Linked DNA regions of Homo sapiens: all the other regions are linked to region 1. Evidence: promoter capture Hi-C in 16 types of primary human blood cells and fetal thymus (Javierre and others, 2016). All regions are on one chromosome and are shown on one strand. The core of a region is centred on a gene start or on the middle of the fragment in contact, and the rest is flanking DNA. Distances in the headings are between cores, read along the strand shown.

What was found. The method cuts DNA at HindIII sites, captures the fragments that hold promoters and counts their contacts. A CHiCAGO score of 5 or more calls a contact.
Region 2: a contact is called between a fragment that was not itself captured here and the fragment with the promoter of HAMP in region 1, in 2 of 17 cell types (total B cells and monocytes). The highest score is 6.2, in total B cells.
Region 3: a fragment that was not itself captured here is called in contact with the fragment with the promoter of HAMP in region 1 in 2 of 17 cell types (monocytes and naive B cells); the score reaches 8.1 in monocytes.
Region 4: a contact is called between a fragment that was not itself captured here and the fragment with the promoter of HAMP in region 1, in 3 of 17 cell types (total B cells, monocytes and naive B cells). The highest score is 7.4, in total B cells.

The regions. Positions count from the first base shown.
Region 1 is chr19:35,281,043-35,284,692 of GRCh38, forward strand. It overlaps HAMP (hepcidin antimicrobial peptide), which reads left to right and starts at 1,486. Exons shown (of 3, transcript NM_021175.4): 1 at 1,486-1,625. The coding sequence starts at 1,536. RefSeq lists an enhancer at 1,348-1,857. The HindIII fragment of the contact is 2,484 bases long and covers 268-2,751 here.
Region 2 is chr19:35,202,279-35,206,299 of GRCh38, forward strand. LOC105372379 (a long non-coding RNA gene) reads left to right here and starts at 2,843. Exons shown (of 3, transcript XR_935938.2): 1 at 2,843-2,998; 2 at 3,875-4,021. RefSeq lists enhancers at 804-1,321, 1,322-1,839, 1,840-2,357, 3,333-3,502. The HindIII fragment of the contact is 3,198 bases long and covers 1,104-4,021 here.
Region 3 is chr19:35,389,967-35,393,802 of GRCh38, forward strand. No RefSeq gene overlaps it. Among named protein-coding and RNA genes, the nearest start is that of LINC01531, 14 kb to the right of the region's middle. The HindIII fragment of the contact is 543 bases long and covers 2,117-2,659 here.
Region 4 is chr19:35,183,114-35,186,674 of GRCh38, forward strand. No RefSeq gene overlaps it. Among named protein-coding and RNA genes, the nearest start is that of FXYD5, 30 kb to the left of the region's middle. The HindIII fragment of the contact is 8,299 bases long and covers 1-3,561 here.

The DNA of each region.
Region 1 (3,650 bases), core at 236-2,735:
ACCGGCTCCCCAAAAACATCCCTGGCTTGTAGTGCTTGCCAATTTCTGGGTGTCAAGACTCCCACTGCTGCTGATTTCAGGATACCAGCATGATGCCACTGAATGCAGAGTTTCGAGATGTGCATGGTCTGCTATGTTGAGCCAGGTCTAGCATACCGCTGTGCCCTGCTGTGTTTTAGGGGAGATGGGGAAACCTGGTGGGTAAGAGCAAAAGCCCTGGAGTCAGGCTGTCCAGGCTAGAATCTCAGCTCTGCCTCTGGCTGAGCAAGCTTGGGCCATGCCCTGATCTCTGCCTTCAGTGCCTTTTCTGTAAAGTGAAGGAAATGAGTGTCCGACGGGGAGGAGGTTCCTAAAAGGGAGCAGGGTCTGGGGAGCCCAGGCCTCTGGGGTTGGGTGACTGAGAAGGCAGCCCCTGAATACAGAGCAGAGCTGAAGGTGGGGCAGTAAGTGCTGCTGGGAGAACAGGCAGCACAGGCTGAGTTGGTGCAGAAGTGAGTCAACATATGTGCCATCGTATAAAATGTACTCATCGGACTGTAGATGTTAGCTATTACTATTACTGCTATTTTATGTTTTATAGACAGGGTCTCACTCTGTCACCCAGGCTGGAGTGCAGTCACACAATCATAGCTCACTGCAACCTCAGCCTCCTGGGCTTAAGCGATCTGCCTCAGCCTCCCAAGTAGCTGGGACTACAGATGTGTGCCACCACGCCTGGCTAAATTTGTTTAAAATTTTTTTTGTAGAGATGGGGTCTCCCTATGTTGCCCAGGCTAGTCTTGAACTTCTGGGCTCAAGCGACCCTCCTGCCTTGGCCTCCCAAATTGCTGGGATTACAGGCATAAGCCACTGTGCTGGGCCATATTACTGCTGTCATTTATGGCCAAAAGTTTGCTCAAACATTTTCCAGTTACCAGAGCCACATCTCAAGGGTCTGACACTGGGAAAACACCACGTGCGGATCGGGCACACGCTGATGCTTGCCCTGCTCAGGGCTATCTAGTGTTCCCTGCCAGAACCTATGCACGTGTGGTGAGAGCTTAAAGCAATGGATGCTTCCCCCAACATGCCAGACACTCCTGAGGAGCCTGGCGGCTGCTGGCCATGCCCCGTGTGCATGTAGGCGATGGGGAAGTGAGTGGAGGAGAGCGGAACCTTGATTCTGCTCATCAAACTGCTTAACCGCTGAAGCAAAAGGGGGAACTTTTTTCCCGATCAGCAGAATGACATCGTGATGGGGAAAGGGCTCCCCAGATGGCTGGTGAGCAGTGTGTGTCTGTGACCCCGTCTGCCCCACCCCCTGAACACACCTCTGCCGGCTGAGGGTGACACAACCCTGTTCCCTGTCGCTCTGTTCCCGCTTATCTCTCCCGCCTTTTCGGCGCCACCACCTTCTTGGAAATGAGACAGAGCAAAGGGGAGGGGGCTCAGACCACCGCCTCCCCTGGCAGGCCCCATAAAAGCGACTGTCACTCGGTCCCAGACACCAGAGCAAGCTCAAGACCCAGCAGTGGGACAGCCAGACAGACGGCACGATGGCACTGAGCTCCCAGATCTGGGCCGCTTGCCTCCTGCTCCTCCTCCTCCTCGCCAGCCTGACCAGTGGCTCTGTTTTCCCACAACAGGTGAGAGCCCAGTGGCCTGGGTCCTTAGCAGGGCAGCAGGGATGGGAGAGCCAGGCCTCAGCCTAGGGCACTGGAGACACCCGAGCACTGAGCAGAGCTCAGGACGTCTCAGGAGTACTGGCAGCTGAACAGGAACCAGGACAGGCACGGTGGCTCATGCCTGTAATCCCAGCACTTTGGGAGGTTGAGGCAGGCAGCCCACTTGAGGTCAGTTTGAGACCAGCCTGGCCAACATGGTAAAACCCCGTCTCTACTAAAAATACAAAAGTTAGCCAGGCTTGGTGGCAGGTGCCTGTAATCCCAGCTACTCGGGAGACTGAGGCAGGAGAATTGCTTGAACCCGCAAGGTGGAGGTTGCACAGTGAGCTGAGATTGCACCACTGCACTCCAGCCTGGCAACAGAGCAAGACTCCATCTCCAAAAAAGAACAGAAATCAATGAAGCACCGAGTGACAGGGACTGGAAGGTCCTAATTCCATGGGTATTTACGGAACCCCTACGCCGTGTGGAGTCTTATTCTAGACAGTGGGGACGAGGCCATGAACAAGGTAGATGAGAGAGGAGATTTCTCCATCCTGGTCAGGGAATTTGTTAAAGACTGATGAAAACATGAATAAATAATTGTGTCTAGTACATTCTATTCGTGAATCTCATAACAGACAGTGGTAGAGTGACCGTGACCCATTCGCCACACAGTAGAGTCACTTTTTTGGTTTGTTTTTTAGAGACAGGGTCTTCCTCTGTTGCTGAGGCTGGAGTGCAGTGGTGCAGTCATAGTTCACTGCAGCCTCAACCTCCTGTGCTCAAGCAATCCTCCCACCTCAGCGTCCCAAGTAGCTGGGACAGCAGGCACATGCCACGGGTTGGGGGACCACAGGCATGGTCAAGGGGCTGGCAGTCAAGCAAGTGTTTCATGAGAAAGTGACAGTTGACCTTCGTCTTGGAGGGTGAGAGATGGAGGCAGCAAAGACCTAAGGAGAGGACAAGCCAGCATAGCCCAGGGTCAGGCTGAACAAGAGGAGATGGTGGGACTTGGGGATAAGGCTGAGGGGTGGGCAGTCCCTAAGTCTTGTGGGCAACCATGCAGACACTGATTTTTCCTTGGAATAAAGAGGAAGCCCCCATAAGCTTTTTTTTTTTTTTCTGAGATAGGGTCTCGCTCTGTCGTTCAGGCTGGTGTGCAGTGGCATCATCTGGGCTCACTGCAACCTCCGCCTCCCGGGTTCAAGCAATTCTCCTGCCTCAGCTTCCCGAGCAGCTGGGATTACAGGCGGCTGCCACCACGCCCGGCTAATTTTTGTTTTTTTAGTAGAGACAGGGTTTCACCATGTTGGCCAGACTGGTCTTGAACTCCTGACCTCAGGTGATTCTCCCACCTCGGCTTCCCAAAGTGCTGGGATTACAGGCGTGAGCCACTGCGCCCAGCCTCCTGTAGGTTTTTAAAATGGAGAAAACCACAATCTCACTGGCCATGTTTTAAAAAACTTAATCTGCCAGTCAGGCACCATGGCTCACACCTGTAATCCCAGAGTTTTGGGAGGCCAAGGTAGGAAGATCAGTTGAGCCCAGGAGTTCAAGACCAGCTTGGGCAACACAACCAGACCCCACCTCTACAAAAAATTAAAAAATTAGCCGGGTGTGGTGGCGTGCACCTGCTGTCCCAGCTACTCGGGAAGCTGAGGCGGGAGCATCGCTTGAGCACAGGAGGTCAAGGCTGCAGGGAGCTATGACTGTGCCACTGCACTCTGGCCTGGGCAACAGAGGAAGACTCTGTCTAAAAAACAAACAAAAAAAGTGACTCTGCTGTGTGGCAAATGGATTGAGGGGCAAGAATGCAGGGAGGTGTGTTAGGAGGCTGGCACTGGCATCCAGGCAGGGGAAGGTGATATCCCAAAGAAGAGTAGCAGCTGTGGAAAGAGGAGGAGGCGGATCTGGGAGGTTTTTTTTTTTAGGAAAAGCCGCCCATGGGAAGGTGAGCAGAAGCAAGAAAGCAAGGCCCCTCCTAAGAGTCCATTTGAGCTCTGG
Region 2 (4,021 bases), core at 1,453-3,952, 78 kb before region 1:
TCCGGTACGTCTTTTTTTTTTTTTTTTTTTTTTTGAGAGAGAGTCTCGCTCTGTTGCCCAGGCTGGAATGCAGTGGCGCAATCTCAGCTCACTGCAAGCTCCGCCTCCCAGGTTCATGCCATTCTCCTTCCTCAGCCTCCCGAGTAGCTGGGACTACAGGCATCCGCCACCATGCCCGTCTAATTTTTTGTATTTTTAGTAGAGACAGGGTTTCACAATGTTAGCCAGGATGGTCTCGGTCTCCTGATCTCATGATCTTCCCGCCTCGGCCTCCCCGAGGATTACAGGCGTGAGCCACTGCACCCAGCCTTCAGGTATGTCTTTATTAGCAGTGTGAGAACAGATTAATACAGCACGCCACTGCTGCTGACCCTCCAACACCTGGTACAGATTTGTGGAATGAATGAATGAAGTTAGGCCCAGAAAGCAGAGCCTCCTCTGCCTGTGCCTATCCATGGTATACTCTCCATCTGTCTGCTGTAGAAATTAGCTTTAAGCAAAAGTACAGCATTTTCTATCAAGTAAAATACATTCAGTGTAATGCAAAGGAATATTCTATGAGTAAAACTTTCCCATTTTCCCCTGGTGTTAAAACATACTTTCTAGTGTGTAATTAGAGCTTTGCATGCTGTGAGTAGTGACTCGTTAGTGGTTCATGAGATCAATTTAGAAGGTCCTAACCAGCAATTTTTTTCTGAAATGGAATTAAGTAGAAGAAAAAAGAAATTTCAGAGTATCAGAGTTTGTCTCCAGCCTTAAGTAAGTGTTACTTTGGTAAACTCTTATTGTGAGTGTGTATTGTTGACAGAAAAGCCAAACTTTGTGAAATATTTAAAGAGGTTTATTCTGAGCCTATAAGAGTGGCCATGGCCTGGGGTACAGTCTCAAGAGATCCTGAGAACATGTGCCTGAGGGGGTCAGGTTACAGTTTGGTTTTATACATTTTAGGGAGACAGGAGTTACAGGCAAAGACATAAATCAATACACGGAAGGTGTACATTGGTTCAGCCTAAAGAGGTGGGATATCTTGAGTCAGAGGGTGGGGAACAGGGCTTACAGGCGGATTCAAAGACTTTCTGATTGCCATTTGGTTGGAAGAGTTAAGCTTTGCCTAAAGACTGAAGAAGTCCTTAGAAAAGAATGCTTGAGCTAACATAAGGGGTTGTAGAAGACAAGGCCCTTGTTATGCAGATGAAGTCTCCTAAGTGGCAGCGCTCAGAGAACATGTGACCAGGGTCAGCTTGGAATTTGGGATCTGATTGCCATAAAGAGTCTACTCTGTCAGTCCTGTGATCTGTATTTTAATGTTAATGTTGGTCAGTTGGGCCTAAACTCCAGAAGGGAGGGGCTAGAATGAGGCATGTGCACCTCCCATTTCTTCATGGCTAGAATTCAGTTGTTCAGATGTCTCTGGGGTCCCTTTGGCCCAGAAGGGGGTCCACTTAGTTAGTTGGGGGGCTCAGGATTTTATTTTTGGTTCAAAGTATATATTCTAGGTTGTGATGTCAAATGACTCTCTTACAGTTAACAACAAAAGTGTGAAAGCTACTGTGGTTGATAGCAATATCCTTTGGTTTAGTAGCTTTGTTTTATTTTCCATGTTATTACTTGGAAATTCTTTTCCCCTGGACCCTCCTAAGTCTCTGTCTCCTATCCCCCAGAGACCTAAAGGGTGAAGACACTGAGCTTCCAGATTTGAGGGCAGGAGAGTCCTAGTGAGGCCTGGCTTGGAGGCCAGGGAACTTCCTATTCCAGTCTGCAATGTTACCCTTCAATCTCCAGCTCCCCTGGCTGTTGGTGCCCACCCCAGAGTTGTGGAAGCCCTTTCAGTCTAGCTGCCCCACTTGGTGACAGCATGGGCAGGGCAGGACAGGGAGCATCATGGGGTTCATGCTTTCTGCCGTCCAGCCTCCCTACATGCAGGGCGATGGCCCCTAGCTGACCCTTGAGAGCTGAGGGGAGGCTAGGAAGAGGGTTAAAGGCGAAGCCAGACCCAGGCCATTACTGAAGTCACATGGCCTGCCAGGAAACCCCTGTCTATATTGTAGCTGGTTGAACTAATTATATTATAAATACTTTTCCATTTTCTGCCTAGAACCATGCTCTAGACATCTGCATGAGGTCATTAAACCTGCACCACAGCCATGCACACACACGTGTGTGTGTGTGTGTGTGTGTAAAAGACAGACATGAGGTATAGAAGAGCAATATAGAGGTCTCCATATTATGGGGGAACAGACAGTCCCAGAGCAGGGAGGTCACTTGAACAGGGTCACAGAGGCAGGAGGCCACGAACCTGGCTGGACACTGCAGGGCCAAGCAGGTAAACACTGTGCCTGACTCGCACCCAGACTTCGCAACAACCCTAGAATATTCATAAGTCAGTAATAATAGTGTTACAGGAAAGGAGTCCCGATCCAGACCCCAAGAGAGGGTTCTTGGATTCCCACAAGAGAGAATTCAGGGCAGGTCCATAAAGTGAAAGCAAGTTTATTAGGAAAATAAAGGAATAAAGAATGGCTACTCCATAGACAGAGCAGCCCCGAGGACTGCTGGTTGCCCATTTTTATGGTTATTTCTTGATGATATGCTACACAAGGGGTGGATTATTCATTTCTCCCCTTTTTAGACCATAGAGGGTAACTTCCCGACATCGCCATGGTATTTGTAAACTGTCATGGCGCTGGTGGGAGTGTAGCAGTGAGGACGACCAGAGGTCACTCTCGTGGCCATCTTGGTTTTGATGGGTATTATCTGGCTTCTTTATTGCATCCTGTTTTATCAGCAAGGTCTTTATGACCTGCATCTTGTGTTGACCTCCTATCTCACCCTGTGACTCAGAATGCCTTAACCATCTGGGGATGCAGCCCAGTAAGTCTCAGCCTCATTTTACCTGGCCCCTACTCAAGATGGGGTTGCTCTGGTTCAAACGCCTCTGACAGGGTGACAACTGTGACCACAACAGATTCACAAACATGACATTTTCAGAGAGAGGAAGGTATGCAGGGTGGTGTGATTTGGAAGAGGCTGTGGGCGTAGAGGGATGGGTAATTCAGTTGGGGTGGTCAGGGAGGGCTGCTTGGTGGAGGGGACTCTTGGCTGAGACCTGAGGGCTGTGAAGTTCTTAGAGAAGGGTGTTCCAGGCAGAGGGAACAGCAAGCACAAAGGCCTGAGACGAGAGCTAGCTTGGTATGCAAGAGGAACAGAAAAGAGGAAGTGAGAGTAAGGCGGGGGAGGGAAGGGGCAGGGAATGGAGGCTGTGGAGAGGGGAGGGTTTCCAGGCAGCCCAGGACCCTCAAGGAGAGAAACGTTGGATGTAGTCTCCCAGGTAGGGTCCATCTGGCCCTTCCTCCTGGCTCCTGCGGAGTCCGAGTGGCTCTTTCCCTCCTTCCCTCCTCTCCCCTCCTCCTTCTCTCCCTCTCCATTTTCCCTGCAAGGTCTGCAGCCCAACTCCAGCTCTCCCATTACTACAGGGGCTGGTGGGTCCTTCTGAGCAAGAAGATGGGGCTCTTTGTCTACAGTGTCTGTCTATAGTCATTCACCCACTCATTCATTTAATCATTCACTCATTCATTCATTCATTTAGCCACTCATTTGTCAAATATTGATTTTTCTCAGGTGTTTTGCCCTCACAGGTCCTGCCGCCTAAAACACTGACTTCTTATCTCTCAAGGCTTTGCTTTCAACACTGTCTCTTCCAAGACCTCTCCCTGACCACTCCCAACTTACTAAACCCCTATCACCCTGTTAGCTTTTGAATGCTCTTCATGGTAAAACAGGACAGGTTGATGCTCTCCGGGGCTCTCTCTACACACAAGAGAGAGATTAGCCTGACGGGCATTCGTTTACCCTTCTCATTTTCTTTGGGAACCAGCCTCCCCTGCTCTTAGTCTATGTGATTCGGACACAGCCAACTACATTTCCCAGATCCAGAAATGAACACGCCATTCCAAGTAAAGCCAATGAGAGACAGCTGCAGGACTTTTGCTGGAACTATTGGGAAAGTGGTGTTTCTTTTTCT
Region 3 (3,836 bases), core at 1,138-3,637, 110 kb after region 1:
TTTGTTTGGCCCAGAAAGGCGATACAACTCAAAGCAGGGTGGGGCTTCCAGGCTATAGGTAAATTTAAACATCTTCTGGTTGACAATTGGTTGAGTTTGTCTAAAGACCTGGGATCATAGAAAGGAAATGTTCAGGTTAAAAGATTGTGGAGACCAAGGTTCTTTTGAAGTCTTACAGTGGCTGCCCTTAGAAACAATAGTTGACAAATGTTTCCTATTCAGACCTTTAAAAGGTGCTAGACTCTTAGTTAATCTCTTCAGGATTGGGAGGGCCTGAAAGAAAAAGATCTAGCTATGTTAATAGAGATTCTTTACAGATGCACATTTCCCCCCCACAAAGGACAACTTTGCAGGGCCATTTCAAAATATGGCAAAGAAACATGTTTTGGGGTAAAATATTATGACTTTCTTCTTTGTCGTGTAATGTTATACCAGAGTAAGATTGGAAAGTAAGTCACAATATGTAAGTTAAATAAAACCCATCTGGGCTGGGCATGGTGGCTCACGCTTGTAATCCCTGCACTTTTGGAGGCTGAGGCAGGCAGATCACCTGAGGTCAGGAGTTCGAGAACAGCCTGGCCATTATGGTGAAACCCCATCTCTACGAAAAATACAAAAATTGGCAGGGCGTAGTGGCAGGCACCTGTAATTCCAGCTACTCGTGAGGCTGAGGCAGGAGAATTGCTTGAACCCAGGAGGCAGAGGTTGCAGTGAGCTGAGATCGCACCATTGCACTCCAGCCTGGGCAACAGAGTAAGACTGTCTCAACAACAACAACAAAAATCTGATGAGAATTTATGGTTTGTAGAGCATGACTTCTCTAGACCCCTTAGATAGGAATTTGGGCAAGATTTTAAAAATCAGAGCTTAGTTCTCACTAACAAGCCCCAAGAGTGTCCAAACTGAAACAGTCATGGTGCTTTCCTCCCTCCATCATTTGGGCTTATTCAACCTGCAAATGGAAATTCCTTAGAAAATTCCCAAATTGAGAGGAGCCCTTCCTGCTGTCTGGAACCCAGAAAAGACACTCATCCATCCAGACACAGATATCAAATTTCAAAGTCTGTTCTTCCTAGGCAATCAGCAATACATTTGGGGCTGGCAGCAGCAGAGCCAAAGAGAAAAAGATGGAAACCCACCTCCAGCCAAAAAAAGGTCAGACAGCTGTACAGGGGGCTTCTGAAAGTCCCAGTCTGCAGCAGCTGAGCCACAAGCAATGTGTTCCCAGGTAGGGAACCAAAATCTGTTACTGAAATGCCAGGGCTCCAGTCTAGGTCCCGTTGCTCACTGCACAGAAAGCCAATCACCAAGACAATGAGTACTGCCTGGGAAGAAGGCTTTAATTGAGTGCTTTAGCCAAGGAAAATGGGGATCAGTCTCAAATCCATCTCCCTAGTCAACTAAAATCAGGGGGTTATACAGCAGGGAAGAAATGTAACTACATGTGGGAAAACCAGAGTTAGGGAGAGGTAAGGAAGAGGAGTTGGTCAAAGGAATTAGGGAGGGATAAGGAAATCAGGAGGGATGAGGGGTCTGGCATCTCATTGTCTGGATGCAGTGATCTGGTGAGTTTCAATTCGTTGATTTCCTGTGGCAAGAACTCAGATAAGACAAATGCAGGCTTCAAACTTTAAGACCAGGAGGGGGCCAGGCACAGTGGCTCATGCCTGTAATCCCAGCACTTTGGGAGCCCGAGGTGGGTGGATCACGAGGTCAGGAGATCAAGGCCATCCTGGCTAACACAGTGAAACCCTGTCTCTACTAAAAATACAAAAAATTAGCCGGGTTTGGTGGCATGTGCCTGTAGTCCCAGCTACTCAGGAGACTGAGGCAGGAGAATTGCTTGAACCTGGGAAGCAGAGGTTGTAGTGAGCCAAGATCGCACCACTGCACTCCAGCCTGGGCAACAGAGAAAGACTCCATCTAAAAAAAAAAAAAAAAAAAAAAAAAGAAGGGTGAATTTCTACGTTGATCCAAAAGAAGCATCTATGGGACAATCAGGCCAGTTTCATGAGGAATATAAATTGGATCCTGTCATTGCCCTGAATAAAACTTTTCAATGGCTTTCCATTCTGGCCTCCTCCTCACAGCCTTTGAGGCCCTGCCTCTCTCTCCAAGCTTCTCTGGGGCCATCCCCAGAGAAGTGTCACTGACATCGCTCTTCTGGCCTGGACTTCTCTCTGTCCCTTGAGCAGGCCAAGCTCTGAATGTCTGCATGCACCATGCCTTCCACTCTTTACCTGGCTAGTTCCCCACTTCTTCCAAGTTTCTGTCCAATGTCACGCCTTAGAGAGGCTTTCCCTGATCATCCAATATCAAGTAGCCCCCTTCTGATATTATCTCACACTGCGCTCTCATGGTTTGATGTTTGTATGTGTGTGTTCATTTGTTTAACGTGACTCCTACTAGACTGAGAAGCCCATGACAGCAGTCACCACGTCAGTTTTCTTTGTCACTATATACCCAGTGGGTGCCTAAAACCGTGCCTAGCACAGACTGGGCATTTGATGGTGAATAAATGAATGAATGATTTTTTAAAAATATCTCTAATTTTCTACTATTATAAATAATGCTATGAGAACATCCTTTTACATAAAGGCACGTGCACTGTGCATTTCCTACAAGTCGTACTGTTGAATTAAATGATATGTACATGTAAAGCTTTGATAAATATCGATGAATTACCTTCCCCGGCTGAGTCAACCCTTTCTTCCCCAACAGTCTGTAAGAGACCCCATAACTCTGCTGACAAGAGAAAATATTGTATTTTAATTTTTTGAGATGATATTTAGAATTTAGAAACTTAAGTATTAGTCTGGGATTTCCAGAGAAACAGAACCAATAGAGTGTGTGTATGTGTGTCTGTGGGTGTGTCTGTGTGTCTGTGTCTCTGTGCATGTGTCTGTGTGTGTATGTGTGTCTCTGCGGTGTGTGTGTGTCTGTGTGTGTGTCTGTGTATGTATCTGTGTGTGTGTCTCTGTGCATGTCTGTGTGTGTCTCTGTGTGTGTGTACCTCTGTGTGTCTCTGTATGTTTTTGTATGTGTGTCTCTGTCTGTGTCTCTATGTGTGTCTCTGTGTGCATGTCTGTGTGTGTGTTTCTCTCTGTGTGTGTTTTTGTGTGTGTCTGTATATGTGTCTCCATGTGTGTGTCTGTATGTCTCTGTGTGCGTCTGTGTGCATGTATGTTTGTGGCTCTGTGTGTTAATGTGTGTCTCTGTGTATGTGTTTCTGTGTGCATGTTTGTATGTGTTTCTGTGTGTCTCTGTGTGTTTTTGTGGGTCTGTGTGTCTCTCTGTGTGTGTGTATATCTCTCTGTGTCTGTGTGTGTCTCTGTGTTTCTGTGTGCATGTCTGTGTGTGTGTCCATGTGTGTGTCTGTGTGTTACTGTGTGTCTCCGTGTGTGTGTCTGTGTGTTTCTGTGTGTGTGTTTGTGTGTGTGTGTGTGTGTGTCTGCATGTCTGCATGTGTGTATAAAGAGATTTATTTAAGGAATTGGCTCATGTGATTGTGAATGCTTGATGAGCCCAAAATCTGACGGAGGAAGCTGGCTGACTCGAGGCTCAGGAAGAAGTTGTGGTTGAGTCTAAAGAGAGCCTGCTGGTGAGCCAGGAAGACCCACTGCTGCAGACAAAGTCTGAATCCAGCATGCAGGAGAATTCTCTTTTGCATGTGGAGGTCAGCCTTTTGTGCTGTTCAGGCCTTCAGTGACTGGAGGAGTCCCCCACATTTTGGAGGGCAATCTGCTTTGCTCAGAGTCCACCAATGTAAATGTCAATCTCATCCAAAAACACCCTCACAGCAACACCCAGAATAACGTTTCACCAAATATCTGGGC
Region 4 (3,561 bases), core at 640-3,139, 98 kb before region 1:
AGGAACACAAGAAACATGAAAAAGCAAGAAAACATGACACCTCTAAAGGAACACAATAATCCTCCAATAATAGACCCCAAAGAAAAGAACATCTGTGCAATTCCCAAAAAAGAATTCAAGTGATCATAAGGAAATTTGATGGGATACAAGAGAATACAAATAGACAATTCAACAAAATCAGGAAAACAGGGCTGGGCGCGGTGGCTCACGCCTGTAATCCCAGCACTTCGGGAGGCCGAGGTGGGTGGATCACCTGAAGTCAGGAATTTGAGAGCATCCTGGCCAACATGGCAAAACCATGTCTCTACTAAAAATACAAAAACTAGCCAGGCATGATGGTGCATGCCTATAGTCCCAGCTACTTGGGAGGCTGAGGCAGAAGAATCGTTTGAACCCTGGAGGCGGAGGTTGCAGTGAGCCAAGGTCGTGCCACCGTACTCCAGCCTGGGCAACAGAGTGAGACAACATCCCCCGCCCAAAAAAATCAGGAAAACAGTTCATGATCAGAATGAAAAAAAATCAGTAAAGAGATGGATATCATAAAAAAAAACACATAAATTTTGGAGCTGAAGACTTAATAAATGATTTTTTTTTTTTTTTTTTTGAAACAGAGTCTTGCTCTTGTCACCCAGGCTGGAGTGCAATGGCATGATCTTGGCTCACTGCAACCTCTGCCTCCCAGGTTCAAGCAATTCTTCTGCCCCAACCTACTGAGTAGCTGGGATTACAGGCCCCTGCCACCATGCCCAGCTAATTTTTGTATTTTTAGTAGAGACGGGGTTTCGCCATGTTGGCCAGGCTGGTCTCGAACTCCTGACCTGGTGATCTGCCCACCTCAGCCTCCCAAAGTGCTAGAATTACAGGCGTGAGCCACCGATCCCGGCCAATAAATGAAATTTAAAATATAATTGAGAGCTTCAACAACAAACTAGGTCAAGCAGAAGAAAGAATTTCTAAACTTGAAGACAGGTCTCTTTTGAAATAACTCAATCAGACAAAAAATAAAATAAAAAAGAATGAAGGAAGCCTACAAGACCTATGGGACATTGTTAAGCAAACAGATATTCCAATTTCCAAAAGGAAAAGAGATGAGAAAAGACACAGAAATCCTATGTAATAAAGTAATAGCTGAGAACTTCCAAAGTCTCGGGAAAGGTATGGACATCCAGATTCAGGATGCTCAAAAGTCCCCAAATAGATTCAACCCAAAAAGGTCCTCTCTGTAGCACATTCTGGTCAAACTGTCAAAAGTTGAAGACCATGAGGGAATTTGAAAAACAGCAAGAGAAAAGCATCAAGTCACATATAAGGGAATCCCCATTAGACTAATAGAAGACTTCTCAGCAGAAACCTTATATTACAGGAGCGAATGGGATGATATATTCTAAGTGATGAAAGAAAAAAACCTGGCAGCCAAGAATACTGTAACAGCAAATCTATCCTTTAGAAATGAAGGAGTCATAAAGTCTTTCCCAGACAAGCAAAAACTGAGGGAATTTATTACCACTAAAGTAGCCTTACAAGAAATCCTCAAGGAGTAGTAAATCAGCAAATTATCTGAATAGGCATTTCTCAAAAGAAGACATACAAATGACCAACAAGTATATATGAAAAATATTCAACATCATTAATCATCTGGCAAATGCAAATTGATACTACAATAAGATATCATCTCACTCCACTTAGAATGGCTGTTATCAAAGAGAAAAAATAACAAAAGCTGGCAAGGATGCAGAGGAAAAGGAACTCTTATACACTGTTGGTGGAAATGTAAATTAGTACAATCATACTGGAAAACAGTATGGAGGCTCCTTAAAAACACCTAAAAATAGAACTATCCTATCTATGATCCAGCAATACACTCTAGGGTATATATTCAGAGGACAGGAAATGAGTATGTCAAAGAGATATCTGTACTTATATGCCAAAGATAAGGTAAGCATGGTTACTATAGTTGATAGTGAAGTCAAAATAGTAATAAGAATAATGTGACTCAAAGAGACCTTTGGCATTCACTACTTTATCATGGTATGCCTCGAAATGAAATAGATGGGGGAGCCTACTAAACTCTTGCTTGATCTGTCTAGGTGGGTAAGTTCTGAGTCTGGCAGACTTGCAGCACCATTCTCAATAGCCAAGATATGGAATCAACGTAAGTGTTTTTCAAGAGATGAATGGATAAAGAAAATGTGGTACAGATACACAATGGAATACTATTCCACCGTAAAAATAATGAAATCTTGTCATTTGTGGCAACATTAATGAGCCTGTAAGACATTATGTTAGGTGAATTAAGCCAAGCATGGGAAGATAAATACCACATATTCTCATTCATATGTGGAAGCTAAGAAAGTTGATATCATAGAAGTAGAGAATGTAATAGTGGTTACTAGAGGCTGGATAGGGGTTGAAGGGGATAGGAAGATGTTGGCAAATGGATACACAATTACAGCTAGATAGGAAAAATAACTTCCAGCATTCCTTAGCACTGTAGGATGACTATAATTAGCAATGATTTATTGCACCATTCCTCAGGACAATCAACCAGTCTGCTGATGGCTAATTAATTACGTCGAACTGTCTCTTTTTTAATTTTCTTTTCTTTTTTGAGACAGAGTCTCGCTCTTGTCACCTAGGCTTGAGTGCAATGGAACAATCTCGGCTCATTGCAACCTCCACCTCCCAGGTTCAAGAGATTCTCCTGCCTCAGCCTCCTGAGTAGCTGGGATTATAGGCATCCATCACCACACCCAGCTAATTTTCATATTTTTAGTGAAGACAGGGTTTCATCATGTTGGCCAGGCTGGTCTCAAACTGCTGACCTCAGGTGTTCCACCCATCGCAGCCTCCCAAAATGTTGGGATTACAGGTGTGAGCCACTGCGCCCAGCCACATTGAACTGTTCCTGTCATGGAAAGGGCAACTCTTTTTTCTTATTTTAATTTTTTAATTTTTGTAATAGAATTCGCTTACCATACAATTCACATGCCATACAGTTCACACATTTAAAGCATACAAGCCGATCTGATTATTTCACATTGCATGCCTGTATCAAAACATCTCATGTTCTCCATAAATAAATACACCTATGATGTACCCACAGCAATTAAAAATTTTTAAAAATCATGTACAAGTCAATGGTTTTTAGTATATCCATAGATATGTACAGCCATCATCACGATCAATTTAAAAACATTTTTTTTTTTTGAGAGAGAGTCTTGCTCTGTCACCCAGGCTGGAGTGCAGTGGCATGATCACGGCTCACTGCAAACTTGGCCTCCCGGGTTTACGCCTTTCTCCTGCCTCAGCCTCCCGAGTAGCTGGGACTACAGGTGCCCGCCACCACGCCCAGCTAATTTTTTGTATTTTTAGTAGAGCCGGGATTTCACCATGTTAGCCAGGATTGTCTCGATCTCCTGACCTCGTGATCCACCTGCCTCGGCCTCCCAAAGCGCTGGGATTACAGGTGTGAGCCACCGTGCCCAGACCAATTTTAAAATATTTTTATCACCCCCACAAAAGAAACCCAATGCTCCATAGCTATTTTCCTCCTGTTCCCAA